Regions from separate parts of the Homo sapiens genome. Here region 2 is linked to region 1. Evidence: promoter capture Hi-C in 16 types of primary human blood cells and fetal thymus (Javierre and others, 2016). All regions are on one chromosome and are shown on one strand. Each heading gives the region's core, a stretch centred on a gene start or on the middle of the fragment in contact. The rest is flanking DNA. Distances are from core to core; before and after follow the strand shown. Region 1 holds the start of FAM200B (family with sequence similarity 200 member B). Region 2 overlaps NCAPG (non-SMC condensin I complex subunit G).

Region 1 (6,893 bases), core at 2,294-4,793:
TCAGAAAACCAAATAAAGGCTTTCCTGCAGTTTCCTTGTACTTCCTCTCCCCATTGACCCTGCTGCTTCTAGGTATGGCACCCTTGCATGGTGTAAGGTGCCATGCTTCCTGTTTCTAGGGATCCATGAGTATAAAAATTTCTTCTTTCATGACAATCATTTTCACATCTGCATATCTTACCATATCTGATTAAAATAAATCCTGGGTACATTTTAAAACACTATTATTTTGTGTTATTGGTCTAGTTACAAAGTTGTATAGTTTGGCCCTAAACCTCTTTTTCCTGATCAGGTTTTATACCTTTTAATACAATTATTTTGCAGACCATGACTTCTTCTAGGAAATCAAAGTCCTAAATGCTTTAACGATGGTTAAATAGCTACAGATTACATATGGTACCTGATTGTACCTTAAAAGGTGTGCATCTGGGAGAGAATTCAGGACCTGGTAGATGCCTTTGACTTAATCTTGGTTAGATGCTTCCTTGAAAGATGACATGTTACAAATAGTTAACCTTGGCTGGAAAGAGACAAAGCTTTTCTTAGGAGGTTTTATGTCCTCTGTCGAGGACATTAGCAGGACTAAAGAGTTTATGGTACATACCTCTTGCATGTCCCAGCACAGTGGGTGGTCATCAATGTATTCAGAACTACACTGCTAAAGGCAAATGCATCTAGATCTCTTTCTAATGCATAAGAAAAGCTGAAGGGCAATACACAGCCTTGAGGCAGTCTAAGCCAGATAAACAGCTGCCTGAAAGGGAATACTGACTCTTCCTTCCATAGTTAAAAGTTCATATAAGGATGCTAACATGTTTTAATGCTTCAACTTTCCCCCAAGAAACCTCAAACTACTACAATTTTGTCCTTCTGCCACCTCTCCCTAGATATTTATCATATATAGCTCAAGAAAAACAGTGCTAAACAAAACATGTTAAACAAAACATGCTACAAAGTCTTTTGTTTGACTTTCTTTACTTATATCTCCGAAAGCGGCTTTAATGAGAAGCCAGAGGAATTTTAGGGGAGAAGTTCAAACCTGAGGTTCTGGCCTAAACATAAATTCTGGAACTTTAATTTAAATAGACATGCTCAATTAGTACTCAATGTAAATCAGAGCATGTTCATACCCGAACACGATCAAGTACACCAGTGTGATTCCATAACCCAGGTGGGTTCTGCTGGCCCAAACACCAAAGACCTATAAATGTGTACACTGATGCTTAAGATGTGTGCACTGAAATTGGCTCCTGCGGCTACATGGCAACATTTCCAAGTAATAACTTTATTCAGCTATCCATCTACTTAGCCTCCCTTAAGAATTGCAATTAAGGTAATCAAATATTTGTAGTTGAAAGTTTCTCATACACCAAGGTGCATTAACACGGTTATATGATATGGTTTTAGGTAAGTGATTTTCCACTAATAAATCTTATCTACCTGTTCCTAGAATAGTGCTTGCTGTATGGTAGTTACTCAATGCATATGAGAGAATGAGAAAATTAATGACACCTGTAGTAAACTGTACAATGTACACTCTATTTTTATCACAGTCAGTAACAAATAAGTTATCCAACTATATTTGGACAACTGGGAAATATGTAAGACGAAGGCTAATAAAACATATTATTTAAAACAGGATTGTTAAAGATTCTACTTCATAATAAACTGCTTATGTTAAGAAATAGTAGAAACAATGATCCTATAAAAACATACATGTAAATTTAGATTTAGCTTTTAAAGCTTAGAACCTAAATCTACCTGAAAAAAAGAAATATACATTAAAAAAGTATCTTATTTTTATATTACTATATATGGATCATTTATCTCTTAGAAGCAATTGTCTTTTAACTATTCCATTCTTTCATATTCTTACTATTCACGTTTCAATCCCCCCTTGAAAGTTTGTAACACTAGTTCAGTTACTATTGTATTAAAAAGATATTTTTAAAGGGTTTACTCTCCCTCCTAAATCAGACAGTTCATCTATAGTAACAGCAGTGGCAGTATATTAGGGAACAGGTCTGGTAGATGTGGTGATGAAAGCATGGGGAAGTTTTTTTTTAACTCAATAGGATGTGAGGTATCATCTAAGTAAGAGGCCGAAGTAGAAAATGTTGCAAGTTTGTCAGAAGAAAATATGAAATATTAATAATTGTTAAGGAATGTGATAATATGATGGACTAGGAAAATGTTTTTGGATTTTTAGTCTGGCTGGTTGTCTTACTTGCTTAATGCAATGATTGTTATTGTTACAATGCTTGATAGTCTAAAATTCCCCGTCACTAATCTTTTATATCCTAAGATATATCTCTAGTGCGCTGTATCATCTTCTGAAAATACAGCTCTAATCAGCTTCCTCATAACTGGAAAAGCATTTAATGGCGCCGAGCTTGTGTAAGCTCTTCAGGATAATATCCTTTAAGCTTAAGCCTCATCTTTCCAGGTTTCTCCTTCATCACATGATCTCCATACATTCTACATTTCAGTACTAAAAGTATGGAAATTCTTGAAATAGTTCATGCACTTTCATGTCTCTGCTTTTGGCTAGTATTCCTTTTGCCTGGAATACTCTTGTTGGGTCACATGAAGTCCTATTTATTCTTTTCTACTTAGTTCAAATGCTACAGCAGCCATGCATTCAACTAACATTTAGCTACCTACAGTGCCTAAAGTATGTCAGGCACTGGAGATACTAAACAATGAACAGTGACATATTAAAATAACAGAATATCTGTTCAGCTATTAAGATGAATAAGGTGGAGTTACACAACACTGACAAATCTCAAAAACATTATGTAAAACAAGCTAGCTGCAAAAAGATGTACACATTACAGATTGCATAAAGGTGGTTAGGAGAGTGGTTTCCTTAGGCAAAAGGAAAGAGAATGAGACGGGGTAGAGCTGACAAAGGACTTCAATCACTTATATAATCATTTATTTCTCCAATTCAGTGGTGAGTACACATGTGTTATAGTTTTGTTTCTACCTTTTTTCTGTCTAAAATCGTCTATTTAAAAAAAGCATCTTTAAGGCTGGATACCTTCCTGAAGGCACTGGAAATCTGTCATACTGCCACTAACTTAAAATTACCTTCCACCTCTTGCATTTCCCTTTGTTTCCTGTTTTGACATTGCGCACACATTAGTTAGTACACTAGGCCTTAAGAGTGGAAACTGCCAGGTACCAGCTTTAGCTAGATTAAAACATGACCCTCTTCCCAGGAGACTCCTGACCGGTTTTCTCGTCCTCCAGGGACCCAGCTAGGATTTCAATGAACTTTGGCCTGAACCCCTCGGCCGACCCTAGAATAATCGCCCTTCAGGCCCGGATTGCTTCTGCTCTCACCTTCCCTCAATTCATACGGGGGGCAAAACCAGACTGTATTTCCCGCAACGAACCCTGGAATGCTTCGCTTTAGCGGACTCCGGTCCACTCCCATCAGAGGATGCCCTTCTTTCGCCTCACCTCCAGCCCAGCCGCAGCGACCCGGCCGGGCCCAGCGCTGCAAGCCTCAGGTCTCTCCAGCAGAGCTGCGCCTCTGCTCTCCCCACACTTCCCTCCGCAACACCACTTCCGGCCTACCTCACAAATTCCCCATTCCAGCCGAAAAGAACTGGATCGGCCCTCTGCGCATGCGTGAGACCGGGGCGGTGTCCGGGGGTGCCGGGAGCGGGCGGTGCAGGCTCCACTTTTCCACTTCCCTACGCTCTGTCGGCAGTCTCGCGGGATTTCCGCCTCTCGCGGGAGTTATTTGAATGCCAGGGCGGTAACGACTCCCTAGGCGCCTGGGGCCCTCTGACAAGAAACCCTAGGAGACACCGCGGAGAACTCTGCCTCTGAGCTGGTGGGCGGGCCGGATGTAGCCGAGCGCGGACAGGGCTAGTCCGGACAGAGTCCCAGAGCCATGGGAGCGAAAAGAGACTGCTGCGGATTAAGGAGGCCTTTCGGTTGGCGCAGCAGCCACACCACAACCAGGCGAAGCAGGTAGTGGCGCTGAATCGCTCCTGCCGCGGGGTAAGCGCTCCCGGCCCGCGCCCGCCCCAGCCCCGACCTGGCGGGGCCAGGACGCTGGTTCATACACTCCAAGGTGATTTTCATAGTCTTTGTGGAAGAATTAGAGAATTTTGAACTTTGATATCATTGCACGTGTTTACTTATTTAGAGAATCGCATTGTGTTTAATAATCATAGTATTCCTGTGCGACTCTTTAGGTTAGCAGATCATTGATTTTTAACATAAAACTGCATTTCATTAAATAGATTTAAATATGTATGTATATTTCTGTCCTCTAATGATTGTAACAAAGCAGATTTCTTGATCATTAACAAGATAGGTTCGTGCAAATAAGTGCATCTTTGTCACAAACCAAATTTTTTTGTGGTTGAGATATATATTTATATATATATGTGAAACAAAAAACATATAAAGGAGAATATATATATATTCTTATATATATAATATATACTGCTTTATTTTTTTGGGTTGACATATATATGTCATATATAGTTTTTTTTTAAATTCTACCTTAAACAGGGAAACATGTTAGATACAGGAGCTTGAATTTCAACTCTGAAACTTAATGCGACTTTATCAGCATTTCTCTTTCTCAAGCTACTTACTTCTTGTAGGATTACACAGTCAAATTTTTAAAAATTTTTGATTCTCCAACTGGATTTTTTTTTTTAATTTTTGAGACGGAGTCTCACTCTCTCGCCCAGGCTGGAGTGCAGTGGCGCAGCCTCGGCTCACTGCAACCTCAGCCTCCTGGTTCAAGCGATTCCCCTGCCACAACCTCCCGAGTAGCTGGGATTACAGGCGACCGCCACCATGCCAGGCTAATTTTTGTATTTTTCAAAAATACAAAGACGGGGTTTCACCATTTTGGCCAGGCTGGTCTCGAACTCCTGACCTCAGGTGATCCACCCACTTGGGCCTCCCAAAGTGCTGGGATTACAGGGGTGAGCCACTGCACCCAGCCTCTCCCACTGGATTTTTAAAGCTGTTTTTTGATTAGCAAATATTTCTTTTACATGGCTCAAACTACATGAAAAGAAATGCAGCAAGAAACACTTCCTCCCTAGTCCCTATCCAGTACCATTCCTAATAGTCTTCACGGGTAATCATTTTAAATTAGTTTCTTGTTTATCCTTCCGGTCTTCATGCAGAGATACAAGCAGATGAGAATATACAGTCTTATTTCACTCGGTCTCTCCTTCAATATTTTCTGCATTGTTCATGTTTTTTTTTTTCCTGTTTTACTGTATATTCTGGATATTCCTCCTTATCAGTATTCAATTAAACTTATTTTTTCCTGTCACATACTCCATTTTGTAGATATACTCCAGTTTATACAGTAAATCACGCGTAGGTGGACACTTGGCGTTGTTTCCAGTCTTCAGATATTAGAAACAACTCTTCAGTGAATACATGTCATTTCTACATTTGCAGGGGTAACTGTCAGATTCTGAAAAGAATTGCTGGATCCAAGAGGAAATGTGTTTGCAAATATGATAGATATTTACAGTTGCCCTTCATAGAGTGATCCATTTTACACTCCTATCAGCAGAGAAGAGAATGAGACATACTGCTTTTTTTTTTTTAGGGGGATTGGAAAGAACAGGAATATAATTGGGATTTTTTGATAGATAAGTAAAATCCTGAAAAGTTTGGGAATATGAGTTAGAATGATAAAACATATAACAAAAATAACTTGTTGTGTGATAAGAAGGCTTAATTTTAAAAAGCAGTATTGAATTGGGACCATTGGGTGTTGGTTTTTTGTTTTTTTGTTTTTTTTTTTTTTTGTTCCTGAACTGTACCTTTAGCATATTTCTCTAGATAGATTCAAGGATATTTAGAAAAATCAAAATCTCTTGTGATCAAAATCTGTGCTTCCTTGCTCCATGACAGAAGCAATTCAAAAACAAGAGACTTGGGTAAATATTACTCAGGTTTATTTTCCTCAGTTTTTTCTACTGGATGGATAATTAATAATTGTTAAAGAGTAGATATTTTAGCCCGACATGGTGGCTCACACCTGTAATCCCAGCACTTTGAGAGGCCGAAGCGGGTGGATCATGAGATCAGGAGATCCTGACCAACATGGTGAAACCCTGTCTCTACTAAAAATACAAAAATTAGCTGGGTGTGGTGGCACGTGCCTATAATCCCAGCTACTCAGGAGGCTGAGGCAGGAGAATCGCTTGAACCCAGGAGGCGGAGGTTGCAGTGAGCCGAGATCACGCCGCTGCACTCCAGCCTGGTGAGAGTGAGACTCCGTCTCAAAAAAAAAAAAAAAAAAAATAGAGATTTTAGTTTGGTGAAAAATTGTTGAGATTTTTGAGAATTATGATAGTGCTAGGGACAGAGACTATTATCAATGTAGTTTGTGAAGGGTTTGTTTTTTATTTCTGCTGACCAGTAAAAGTTTTTTAAGAGGCATTTGTTCATTATATCAATTAAGCTATGATGATCTGCAAATATGAACCAACAGTAGAGTGAGAAACAGAATTTGCAGCAGTTTATTACATCATTTCACCAAACAGAAGGAAGATAATGAGAAAAATGAAGACAGTGACATTTCAAACAAAATGACCTTATAAATATTTTTCTGTAGGCTAAAATAATAAGCTTATAATTAAAAGCTGATTTGTTAAGTAATAATAGCTTACATTTAAAATTATAAGAAACCAATTTTAGGTAAATATACTTAAATTAATGCTCTACCTAGGAAGGAATGCAGAAGATCATTTTGGTCAAAAAGTTGTTGCATTCTTGTTATTTAGCAAATATTTCAGACAAGGACTATTTTGAGACTATGTAAATGTATATTTAGTATACCTATGCATGAAAGTAGCATTGTAGCTTTTCTTCGTTTGCATGAATTGTAA
Region 2 (6,893 bases), core at 4,394-6,893, 2.1 Mb before region 1:
ACATGCAGCAACACAATCACTCTCCAAACTAAAAGAAAAAAAATTTACCTCAATAAATAGTCTGCATATACTACAGGCTCTGGCAAAATCTGCTCTAAAAATTCTTCACCTTCATCTCCTTTTGATTTCAAATATTCACAAAGGGCACACCAATACAAAGCAATTTCAGGAGTTAATGTTTCCACTGGAATCAATTTCCTTCATTTAAAAGAAAGAGTGTGAGAGAAAGCATGATCTTTTTATCATTAAGAATTGAAGAGTACAAAAATGAGAATAATAAGATTTGCTTTAAAACCACTACACTATCCTTTTAATTAGAGTCATTAATGTATCCACACAAAAAGGAATGAAGAAACTTAGAACAAAAAAGAACCAAATAAGCAAACATATACTAGGGGTGCATGTTGCTGGATTTTCTCATGGTAGGCTAATTCAAAAATCAAAGTAAGAAACTGAAGGGGGGAAAAGCATAGCTAAAGTAGATAGTCTATGATAAAGTTATGAGTTCTTACACCAGGAGGGGAAAAAGGAAGGATAAAAGGATATTCATCAGACTAAAAGAAAACAAAAGAGAGTTAAGATTAAAGGTATTAATATAATCTTAAGCTATGGGGAGGAAAAAAAACAAATTAATTGCACAAGTTAATCAGTACTACATTTCAAAGAATGAATCCTTTATGTACCTGCCATCATTGTTTTTACAGAGTCCCACCAGTTCACTGAGAGGAGTTATTGAAAACAAGGCATTGAGAACAGAGACTGCCACTTCAGAAGAATTTTCTACATCCAACCGATGGAGCAACTCTAAGATATTTCCTTCAGAGAACCGTAACCAGCCTTGAAGAAGATGCTTCTGCATAGCTTGTTTCACAGCATCTATTGAGTCATTTGAAACATAGGTGAACAAAGGCTCCCTCTAGCTTCCATCTCTTGTATTTTGTCTGTTTTAATTAACAAAGTCAGTATTTACAATAGAAATAGTAGAGGTTAAGAGGCACAACTAAGCATGTATATATATATTTTTTGAGACAGAGTCTCGCTCTGTCACCAGGCTGGAGTGCAGTGGCACGATCTTGGTTCACTGCAACCTCCACCTACCAGATTCAAGCGATTCTCCTGCCTCAGCCTCCCGAGTAGCTGGGACTACAGGCATGCGCCACCACGCCCAGCTAATTTTTGTTTCACCATGTTGGCCAGGATGGTCTCAATCTCTTGACCTCGTGATCCGCCTGCCTCGGCCTCCAAAAGTGCTGAGATTACAGGTGTGAGCCATAGCGCCCAGCCAACTAAGCATATTAAAGGTAAAAAAAAAGAAGTACCATGATACTGCAAAAGTCACTGTAATGGTCACTTACAAATAAAAATGGAAAAGGTTCAGCACCAAATACCACAGCCTACAAAAATATCTTTACATTCCTTCTCCCCTGGGTTCAATGGGCTTCAGGTGTTAGCCCAGAATATGTAATAGCTATTATCTCACTTGTTATCTGATTTTATCTATTACACGATTGCTATTTGCAGTAGTGAACTATACAAGCACACGTCACTGAACAAACCTTAGTCTTAGCTTTTAAGGTCATCCTACTAATTAGTCCTCTGACAATGTTTTCAAACGCAAGTCGGTTTTCTCACTACAGCGCAATAGAGCCATCTTGGCCTTCTCATGAGAGTTAAAAACTTCAAAAAATATCATTCCTATAAGCAGATTCTCTCAGGCTCCCCAACCCCTGGGCCACGGACTAGTACCAGTCTGTGGCCTGTTAGGAACCGGGCCGCACAGGAGGAGGTAAGCCGTGGTCTAACGAGCATTACCACCTGAGCTCTTCCTACTGTCAGATCAGCAGATGCATTAGATTCTCTCAGGCGCAGGAACTCTATTGTGAACTGCGCACATGAGGTATCCAGGTTGCACGCTCCTTATGAGAATCTAAGTAATGCCTGATGATCTGAGGTGGAACAGTTTCATCTGGAAACCATCCAGCCCGCCCTCTGTGGAAAAACTGTCTTCCATGAAATCGATCCTTGGTGTCAAAAATGTTGGGGAACTCTACTCTAACAGAAAAAAAAAAAAATAAGAAAATTATACTGGTCTGACCATTCCTATTTGTTGTTTCTGATACACAGAACACATTCATACCAAAGTATACACATAAGGAACAGCATTTTTTTTTTAAGTCAGAGAGAGAGGGCAAATAGATCTTTTCCTACTTCTGACATGAATTAGCTCTACAGACTTAAGTATTGTTTCTCCATCTGTAAAATACAGAAAGGGTGAAAGAAATAAGCTCTGCTCCTTCAAAATACCAAGATCTTGGCCAGACGCGGTGGCTCACACCTGTAATCCCAACACTTTGGGAGGCTGAAGTAGGTGCATCACTTGAGGTCAGGAGTTCGAGACCAGTCTGGCCAACATGGTGAAACCCCGTCTCTATAAAAATATAAAAATTAACCAGACATGGTGATGTTCACCTGTAATCCCAGCTGCTCAGGAGGCTGAGGCAGGAGAATCGCTTGAAACTAGAAGGCAGAGGTTGCAGTGAGCCAAGATTGCACCACAGCACTCCAGTCTGGGTGATAGAGTGAGACTCTGTCTCAAAAATATATATATATCAAAATCTTTAGCCCTGTGTTTTCTATATAATACATCAAGATAAATTTCACCAGGTTCATGGGACTGGCAGGCTTACTTGACCTGATTTGACACTCGTTTCTTAAACCTTGTTAAGTCTGACCTCAAAATCTACTAAAGTTTTGTATATATAAAGTTGTTTATCTTACCTGATCTGTCATTAAGACCTTGTTGAAGGAGCATTACTCTCTGAGCAATGGACATAGCTCTCATATGAACCTTTTCAGCTAAAACCTTAAAAATAATTTATAAAGATGGTCATTAACCTCAACACAATTTATAGATTTCATAAGAATATCACCATCTTAGAAAATTACCCAGAATCTCCAAAAGAAATTAATACCTGGTAACATACTTAATACAGTAAGATTCTACCTAAATTACCTGTGTTCTCCATAAAACCTCAACTGAAGAAATTATTACATGCCAAGTATTTTTCAAAGGCACTTTAAGAAAATGGCTCCTTGTCCTTTAAGAATATGCCAACACAAGACATTGAACTTATTTACCTGATAAGCCAGCTTTCTGACAGCCTCTTTCACATCCTTGGTGCGCCCTACAATTTTTGGCAAAGTCTTTGCTGATGGTGCAATACATGATAACACTGCCCGTCTAACTTCTGGATTTGAATCATTTTCAATCAAAGTAGCATATGCTAAAAATAAAGCAATACATTTTAGTACTGATGAAATTATTTATTTAACTACAGTCATAAAATAACACACATTTTGATATTTTAAAATGCCTTTAATGTGATAAAGATAGGCTGGGCATGATGGCTACTGCCTATAACCAGCACTTTGGGAGGCCAAGGTAGGTGGAGAGCTTGAAGCCAAGAGTTCAAGACCAGCCTGAGCAATATAGAAAGACCCCTGTCTCTACAAAATAATTTTAAAATAAAAAATTAGCTAGGCATGGTAGTGGCGCTTCCAGTTACTTAGGAGGCTGAGGTGGAAGGATCACTTAAGCCCAGGAGTTTGAGGCCACACCTCTGCAATCCAGCCCGAGTGAGAACCCATCTGTAATAGAAAGTAATGTCATTTTTTTAGTCTCACATATTTTAGTTGAAGTTTTTTTCCCACCAACTTCCTTCTTTTTCTTTTTTTTGGAGACAAGGTCTCACTATGTTGCCCAGGTTGGAGCCAAAGTGCTGAGATTACAGGCCTGAGTCACTGCTGCGCAGGCCACCAACTTCCCTTCTAAAGACACAAGGGGGAATTAGTCAACGGACTGGCTCTTAGGCCAAAAGTGAAAACAAATAGCCCTAAAAGTCACAGAAAATTCATCATTAAGATTATGTCTGTGCTACTCCTCAATATTTAAGAGAAAGCTTACTATAGCAGACAGTTTATTTTAAACTGATATGGCTTTATAAGGGCCCATTATTTTGGTTTTTAATGAGACCTAAAAGGAAATATTTTTTGGTTTTATTCATTGAAACAAACCCATTTCTTATATTTAAATATATTTATCTGTACTTCTCACATCTTTCCTACCTCAATTATTAAGTACAGGTTGACTATCAAATACCTATGTTTTACACAATATTATTATGGGTATCTTTTAACACCAAAAAAAATACCAACTACTATAGTGATAAATATACCAGTGATTATAAAACTGGTAATAGGGACAAAAAGGACAGAAGAGTGCCTAAAACATACCTAGGCATATATGGAAAAATGAAATACAACTACCTTTATGACCCCATAGGTAAGAAAAAGTTCCTTAAAAAAGAGATTAAAAAATACGAATCATAATGGCAGAGATTTATATTTTTGACATAAGAATTTCTGTTCAAAAAAAAGATACCCCAAAGGGAGTGAAACAATGATACCCCAATGAGCCACCTAAAACAGGAAGAGATCTACAATTCATATAACCCAAGGATTTCTTTTCAAAATATATAAAGAATGCAAATGAATTTTTTAAAATAGTATTTTAAATTAAAAACCCAATGAAAAAATGGGCAAAACACAGTAACAGGTATTATATAGAAATATAATTGGCTGCTAAATATATACATACAGCATGATTTACACAAAATGACAGGAAAACATTAAGATAGACATATGTGATTTATGCAAAAAAATTTTTTTTAATTTAAGCAAGAGACTAATTAACCCCAAACTGAGGATTTAATAGTTACTTCTGAGGGACAGGGATGCAACTGGGATAGGATGCAAGTACTGACTTTTTTTTTTAAGCTGGGTGGTTGCTACTTAGGTTTTTTTTGTTTAATCGGAATCATATATTAATTACCTATACTCTTCAAATGTATAGACCATAATAAAAAATTTCAAATACTGAGAATTTAACAAAATCAACAAATCTGAAAAAAGATTTAGGAAACTACACACACCATTAACCACTGGGCATTCATCATCCTTGGGATCCTGAAGTCGTGAAAGCGCCAGAACTGCCTGTATTCTCACATTTGGAATCTTATCTTTCAATCTAATAAGCATGGCTTTATTAATTTTATCAAACACATCATCATCAATCTGAGCATTTTCTGGCATACTTCCCAAAAGCTTGTTTATGAGCAGGCACACTCTAAATCTCACTGCATTGCTGTTTGCTTCATGAGACTAAAACAGAAACAAATCAAAATTTATTCATAGTCACATACCACTCCCAAATAATCAATATTATCTGAACTCTATACATTCGGAATGCAAGAAGTTACAACAACAATTCATTTCCTGAAGAGAACCTATAATGCTACCTTGGTCCATATGTATAGCAAATATATATATTTTATACAGTCTCAAAATGAACAGTCTGAAAGAAGTCTTTGCTAAGTTACATAGTCCTCTTTGTAGAGGCTTCTAAAATACAGAACTCATTTAAAATAAACAAAGGAGAACTGGTTTAAAGAGGTCATTAAAAATTTAATGCTGGAGTTAAAGTCCACTTTTTAATCATAATGATAATTCTAATATTTCCTATGAAAGGTAGACTCATTCAGGTTTTTTCAATCACTAGATATTTCATTGTCAAAAACATACAAACTCCCACGACTCTTTTAAAGTGGCAAAATTTTCTAAAATCCCTCCCCAAAGCTATCATTTTCATAGTACCTTTAAGAGAAAAGTAAACAAATAATTTAAAAGGCCACCATCTTCCTCTTCCTCATCATCTTCCATATCTGATTGGTGAAATGAGGTAACAAACTTTGCTGCAAATTCTATTACCCTCTCCACAGCTGGTTCACGTTTATAGACCACCATAACATATTTAAGGTAATGAATGAACTCCTCATGAAAAACTGTCTTATCATCCATCTGAAAGACAAAAGAAACCCTTCATAAACTGCACCGATAAAAATCCTTTATTCCCAACATCACCCTAAGACTGATGAAAGCACTAGCCATAATAATGCAGACAAATTAAAATATTTATTTAGTAAACTCTTAATTATCCAAACCAGCCAAAGGGCAATCAATTTGCATGAATTTCTCTCCAGGCTATAATGGGAGTACACAAGCTTGACTTTTGACAGTGAAAAGATTCCTTTGATATATTTTTTTCAATATCTTTGATTCTCAATAAGCCTTTAGTACCAGTACGTTACAAATACGCTTCTTCAACAACCCAAAATCAATACTGGCTTTTATATTTCTCATATTCAGGCCTTCCTATCACCAGCAGTTTCTTTATGAGATAACTTGCACATCCTATCTCATATCCTCAAAGCCCTGTGATGTTTACTCACAATTTTTCTTGGACCTCAAGATAATTCATCTTCCCCAAATTAATTGTTCTATTCTTCTCAAGGTTCCACTCAAAACAAACAAATAGTATGTACATAAATAAGAATGGCCAGGCCCTAAAAATAATTTGGTATTTGGTGATTGGATTCAACGTAACCGTAGGACAAGGGTAGAATCATTTGATGTTCGGCGGGGAGCGATGACCCCAGGGGCAACGACCACTGAACCCCCGCATTCAGGATCCACTCTGCGGTTCAATATTTGATGTCTGATCGCCTCGGTGGTCGTAAATGTTTCTCTCCACGTTCACGATCGGACTAAGGAATAACGGTCCACGCCGCCCAGAAGCTGGGGGTGTCGGCTCAGAAAAGCCAAGGCGGGGCCCGTGTGAACGACGCCCAGGCTTCGGAGGCTTTCTGGCCTGGGCCCAGGCGACCTCGGGTAAGTCCCTGACTTCTCCGAACCTCAGATCCCTATGAAGTGAGTCGCGAAGGTGAACAAGGCTGGAGTCACGGTGCGCCGAGCCCGAGGGCCACGGAGGGCCCCTG

The links. Contacts are between HindIII fragments. The CHiCAGO score rates a contact against its expected background, and 5 or more counts as called.
Region 2: a fragment that was not itself captured here is called in contact with the fragment with the promoter of FAM200B in region 1 in 2 of 17 cell types (fetal thymus and activated CD4 T cells); the score reaches 8.4 in fetal thymus.

What each region holds. Positions count from the first base shown.
Region 1 is chr4:15,678,477-15,685,369 of GRCh38, reverse strand. FAM200B (family with sequence similarity 200 member B) reads right to left here and starts at 3,543. Exons shown (of 2, transcript NM_001145191.2): 1 at 3,469-3,543. It also overlaps a transcript of FBXL5 not described here. RefSeq lists enhancers at 3,274-3,323, 3,334-3,573, 3,744-4,043. The HindIII fragment of the contact is 4,207 bases long and covers 2,429-6,635 here.
Region 2 is chr4:17,811,244-17,818,136 of GRCh38, reverse strand. NCAPG (non-SMC condensin I complex subunit G) reads right to left here. Exons shown (of 21, transcript NM_022346.5): 2 at 5,713-5,916; 3 at 4,992-5,220; 4 at 3,139-3,284; 5 at 2,779-2,863; 6 at 684-876; 7 at 49-198. Among named protein-coding and RNA genes, the nearest start is that of NCAPG, 3.7 kb to the right of the region's middle. RefSeq lists an enhancer at 6,687-6,893. The HindIII fragment of the contact is 956 bases long and covers 5,166-6,121 here.